2 separate regions of the Homo sapiens genome follow, and region 1 is linked to region 2. Evidence: promoter capture Hi-C in human tissues and cell types (Jung and others, 2019). All regions are on one chromosome and are shown on one strand. Each heading gives the region's core, a stretch centred on a gene start or on the middle of the fragment in contact. The rest is flanking DNA. Distances are from core to core; before and after follow the strand shown. Region 1 overlaps CDC42 (cell division cycle 42). Region 2 holds the start of HSPG2 (heparan sulfate proteoglycan 2).

Region 1 (2,763 bases), core at 27-2,526, 160 kb before region 2:
AAGGGAAACAGATAAGTCTGTGTAAAGGGATCTAGTTTCACCACTGAATTATATTTATGCTTGGATCCTACTAGTATTCCCAAAAGGAAGTGATCCATAAGGTAGGAAAATATCCTGTCTGCCGCTGTTAAGAAGCCGTATTTGGCCAGGCCCAGTGGCTCACGCCTGTAATCCCAGCACTTTGAGAGGTCGAGGCGGGAGGATCACCTGAGGTTGGGAGTTCGAGACCAGCCTGACCAACATGGAGAAACCCCGTCTCTACTAAAAATACCAAAAAATGAGCTGGGCGTGGTGGCACATGCCTGTAATCCCAGCTACTCAGGAAGCTGAGGCAGGAGAACTGCTTGAACCTTCGAGGTGGAAGTTGCAGTGAGCCAAGATCACGCCATTGCACTCCAGCCTGGGCAACAAGAGCGGAACTTCGTCTCAAAAAAAAAAAGCAGCCGTATTTATCCTATAAACAAAAACCAACTCGGTCTTTACTGGTTACTGCTATACATTTTTTTTAAAACTACAGACTGAACCAAACTTAGAATCTCTCAACTATATCAGTAAAAATCTAAAAAGATTCTCCATATAGGGATAATAATCACAAAATTCTTGAAGACTCACTAGTCTACTTGTATATTTAGTATACAGGTTTTATAGATTTTTGTTAACTACCTGTCAATAGCTAGCAAAAAATCCTGAAACTTAAGAGGCTACAGAAATGAACCTGCACCAGTCGTGTTCAAATCCCTTGGCAACACCTTAGAGGTTACTAGGGCTGCACAAAGTTTATCTCTGTTTGCAACAAGGAGGCAGTGGGAAGAGTAAAGCTGCTGGGCCTGCATTAACTACAGCAACTCTGTTTCATACACCTTTTCTGTTTCTACAGTGGGGCTCTATATAAGCTTTTGTTTATGAAAAAGAAGGCCTACTGAAAAAAAGACACAAACCAAAAAGGAACAGAAACTCATTTTATTGAGATGAGGAAACCAAGGCCCAAAAAGGTATGGCAACTTGCCCAAGGAAACTCTGGTGCCTCAACTAGAACCTGGATCTTCAACTTCCAACTGAGAGCTCTTTCCAACAGTGTTATTACTACCATGGGAGAAATGAAGATATAGTATCAAACACCATAATGCAAGTTAGGAGCAAAAACAGGACTTGATTTATCACGCTATATGTACCAGGGTTCACGGAGTTTTCTAGCAGCAGAGGAGATAATCACAAACTCAGCACCCTCCAGTAAAGTCATTCTTACAAGAAGCCAGTGAAGAATTCACAGGTGCCTGCCCACCCTTCACAAGCTGCCAAGAGATGGACCTAACTCCTTAACACCAATAATTCCAATACAATTGTGAAATCCTCAAGTTATGGAGAAAAAGGAGCATTTCTTTAAGAGCTTCAGAATCAAGACAAAAAAAATCCCTCTCCCATCAAACTAGTGCAAACCTTACAAAGGAGGGCTAAGAAGCTAGCACTGGGGCCCCATGGTGGGTCTGGAACTCCATACACATTTCCAGCCCTATCAGAGTTGGTTAGAGATGAAATTAAAAGCCTTACTCTACTCCTGGCAATGAGTATGAGGAGGAAGCCCCTCACTGATACAGCAGTTTAAGACCCAGAAGTCAACAGGGTTTTCTGGTCCTGATTTGATGTGAGCCAACAATGATGACAGTGATGAAGACAGCTGCTATCTACCCCATTCACAGATGAGTACCTTCTACTTGCCAGGCACTATGCTAAGAACCTCACATATAGCAATTCATGTCACTCTCACAACTCTTGGGCAAAGTACAGCTATTTCCACTTCACAGAGAATGCAACACTCAGAGCATTTAAGTTACTTGCCTGAAGACATAGATCAAGTTAGTGGCAGAGCCAAACTCAAATCCAAAGCCTATGCATGTACTTCGCACAACACCAACAATGCCAAGTTGTTTCGCCTCAGTTTTACCATTTGACAAATGACATCATCCATCCCTGCCTCTTTTACAGAGTTGTACTGAGGTCAAGTGAAATCACTAATACAAACATGACTTGAAGTTTAGGAGTTTACTACTTAAACTCAAAAACTGCATGAGTATCCCTGACCGTTTGCAGAGAAGATGAAGGCAGAGCCCCAGTCATCTCCCTGTGCTTGGGTCAAGCTAATGAAAGAAGGGAGCCAGGTTGCAGAGCTGGCTCCAAGCCTCCCTCAGACCTTGGGTATTCACTAAGGTGCAACTTTCTCACCAAACAAACCCTGCTCTTCCCAACTCACAGGCCTATTATACAAAAAAAAAAAAAAAGAAGAAGAAGAAGAAGAAAGAAAAAAAGGCCAGCTGAGCAGACTCTAGAGACAGACTGCTTAAATTCAAATCCCAGTTCCCTCACTTACTAGCTCTGAATTCTTGGACAAGCTAGCTCTGAATTCTTGGACAAGCTTTGTATCATAACATGCCTCAGTTTCCACATATGAAAAAATGGGGGATTGCTGAGAAGACTGAGTTAATTCACACAAAGGCTTAAAAGAGTGCCATGTAGAGAATAAACACTCAAATTTTAAGAAGGACCAAATGACACAATGGGCAAAGGCACCCTACAATCCTCTAAAGCTACACCTTTAGATCCTCTAAAGGAAGAAGGTGTCATATTCTCTCATGCTACAACTGATCCTAAAGTCACCTCCCCCAAAAAGCTCCTACCCAACAAACCTACCCTTACAGATGAAGCCTTTTATGCTGCTTTGCTTGCCCTGTGCACTATATGATGCTTCAACTACGATTTTCAGCTTTG
Region 2 (2,799 bases), core at 296-2,795:
AGTTTTATTCTCCTCCTCTATCATTACTCAAAAGGTTTTCCTCAAAGCTACACACACATAGTTTTCCTCTCCACCCATCAGCCTCGGGCTGCCCTGGAAATTTCAGGCAGAAGAGGGGAGCTGAAGAGTAGGCAGTGAATAGGTCTGGGGGCTTGGTGCTGTTTGCTGCCTGCGGTTGGGTCAGAGACAGATCATGGGGCTGTGATTTTACCACCCACCCGAGCATCTGTGATGGGGCTTTGGCAGGGTCTGTCTGTCTGGGCCTGAGTGTGTGAGTTGGTGTGGTTCTGGCTCTGGGGCTGTGATTTATGTGACTCAAAGTTGGTGTGTGAGTGATTTACATGGAAAATGGTGCAGGTGGGGTGGGCAGCTCAGTTCAGTACCCAGTGCCCACTATGAGGCACTGTGATTAGTGGGTGAGAACAGGTAAAAGATACAGGCTGAGGCTGGGTGCGGTGGCTCAATGCCTGTAATCCCATCACTTTGGGAGGGCAAGGCGGGCAGATCACAAGGTCAGGAGTTCGAGACCAGCCTGGCCAACATGGTAAAAACCCCATCTCTATTAAAAATACAAAAATTAGCCAGGCGTGGTGGCACGCCTGTAATCCCAGCTATTCAGGAGGCTGAGGCCGGAGAATTGCTTGAACCCGGAGGCGGAGGTTGCAGTGAGCCAAGATCCCACCACCGCACTCCAGCCTGGGGACAGAGCGAGACTCCTTCTCAAAAAAAAAAAAAAAAAAAAAAACAAGCTGGTAAGCATGTAGGCAATGATGTGGGCCTGTGTGTGAAATGTGCGTGCCTGCGAGGAATCTATGTGAAAAGGCGTCCTCCCGCTCCGTGACTTGTTGGGATGTATGCGTGAGTGAGGGGCTGAGTGTGGTGTGAGGGCTGTCTCCTGTGTCCCTGGTGGAGGTGAGAGTTTGGAAGCGAGTTAAGTGTGCATGTGAGCCGGTGAGGATTGTTGGTACTTCAGAGTTGGGTCCAGAGTGTGAAAGTGTTCCCGGGTAGCGCACAAGTGTGTTCGTGCAGTAAAGTTATGGTGTGAAGGTGTTCTTGGGTGTGGAAGTTGGCGTGCACGTGTGGCGCGGAGCGGCAGCTGCGTGCGTGTGAGCGTGGGAAGGAGATCCCGGGATCTTCAAAAGCTGCGCGAGTGGAGTCGGCCGTGCGGGGCGTGCAGGGGCGTGGAAGTCGGCGGCGCGCGCGGGGAAGCGGGGGAGCCGGGGATCGGGGAGGCGAGAGCGCCTGGCCCGGCGGCCCCATCCCATGCCCGGGCCCGGGCCCCCGGTCCCCCGCCCCGTCCCATCCCATACTCCAGGCCGGGTTTGGCGGGGAGCCGGGCCGGGCCGCGGCCCGCGCGGAGGGGGCTGGGGGCCCAGACAAAGGCCTAGTAGGCTGCGCGGCCGGCTGGGGCGAGCAGAGCCCGCGGCCCGGGGGCGGTCCGTGGGCGGGGCCTGGCGCTCCGGGGAGGGGCGGTTCGGGGGCGGGGCCGGCGCTGCGGGGGCGGGGCGGGCGGGGAGGAAAGGGGGCGGTGGGGAGAGGGCCGCGCTGTCCCGAGCTGGCCGGCGAGCGGGCGGCTGCGGGCGGCGCGGAGCGGGCGGCGCGGAGCGAGCGAGCGAGAGAGCGGCGCGGGCCGGGCCATGGGGTGGCGGGCGGCGGGCGCGCTGCTGCTGGCGCTGCTGCTGCACGGGCGGCTGCTGGCGGTGAGTGTGCGGGGCAGAGGGGCGGGGGGCGGGGGCGGAGGGGCTAGGGGCGCCCCGGTCCCGCTCGCCGCCTCCCGCCAACTTGGCTGGGGCGCCCAAGGCTGCGCGGCGGGGACTCTGGCCCGGGACGGCGGCGCCCGCCGGGGACCCCGGGCCGGCGCCACCCTGCGGCATGGGGCTAATCCAGGGGGGCCACCAGTCAGGACCCTTCGTGGGGCTGGGGGCGGGGCTGGCCCGTGTGGGAGCCCGTGGGTCTCTCGGCCACGTTGCCGAGTGCTGGAGTCTCGCTGGGCATGGTCCGGCCTACCATTCCTGGGGACCAGGAGGGGAAACTTTGAGCAGGGTGGGAACTTGGCAGGACGAGGGAACCCTTCTGCGCCAGCTTGGCAGAACGGCCACTCAGTGGTGATGGGGACCCTATGAGTCTCGCTGAAACTTTACCACACCGTCTATCACCTTGGGGAGCTTGGACCCAGGTAGGCACAAGCAAAACTTTTGGGACAGAACTGAAGCTTGTGTGGAACACCCACGGGCCTTGGAGTCATACAGCCGAAGAGTTGAATCAATCCCTGCCTTTCACTGAGTAACTGTGTGACCTGGGGCACGCTAGTTAACCTCTCTGAGGCCAGCCCCACGTGGGTCAAGGGAACTCAAAATGCACGGCCTCAAAATGCATAGCTGCAGGGCGTTGCTGGACTGCGTGGAATGAGCTGCAAAGTGCGTGGTGCGGGGATGCAGTGCACCCTTGGGGGACCCGAGTTCCCCAGCTTTCCTCTTCCCAGGTCTCCAAGAGGCAGGGAGAGGCCTGCCCTTGCAGTCTAGTCCCCTACTCTGAGCTTAGGTGGAGGAAAAGGGAATTCTACGGTCAGGAATCCCGAGGCTTAGAAGGCACTTGGCCAGCAGAGGCCCTGAGGACCTGAGTGAACTTGAGGAGGACTGGGTGGGGTCGGTGGGCAGGGAGCTAGTGGCAGATGTGGGTGGGGGCACATCTGGGGAGCCGAGCCTACCGTGGGGAGCCACAGAGCCACCCCCACTCTCTCCGAGGTGCTCCTAGGCAGTCCCCATACCTGCCTCCCTGTTCTCTGAGCCAAGAGAGGGA

What was found. The method cuts DNA at HindIII sites, captures the fragments that hold promoters and counts their contacts. A contact is called where the count stands out against the background at its distance.
Region 1: a contact is called between a fragment that was not itself captured here and the fragment with the promoter of HSPG2 in region 2, in 1 of the 25 tissues and cell types used here (H1 embryonic stem cells).

The regions. Positions count from the first base shown.
Region 1 is chr1:22,099,543-22,102,305 of GRCh38, reverse strand. CDC42 (cell division cycle 42) reads right to left here. Exons shown (of 6, transcript NM_001791.4): 6 at 946-2,763. Among named protein-coding and RNA genes, the nearest start is that of WNT4, 42 kb to the left of the region's middle. The HindIII fragment of the contact is 3,633 bases long and covers 1-2,763 here.
Region 2 is chr1:21,936,056-21,938,854 of GRCh38, reverse strand. It overlaps HSPG2 (heparan sulfate proteoglycan 2), which reads left to right and starts at 1,545. Exons shown (of 97, transcript NM_005529.7): 1 at 1,545-1,700. The coding sequence starts at 1,638. RefSeq lists a silencer at 1,157-1,506 and an enhancer at 2,254-2,799. The HindIII fragment of the contact is 19,449 bases long and covers 1-2,799 here.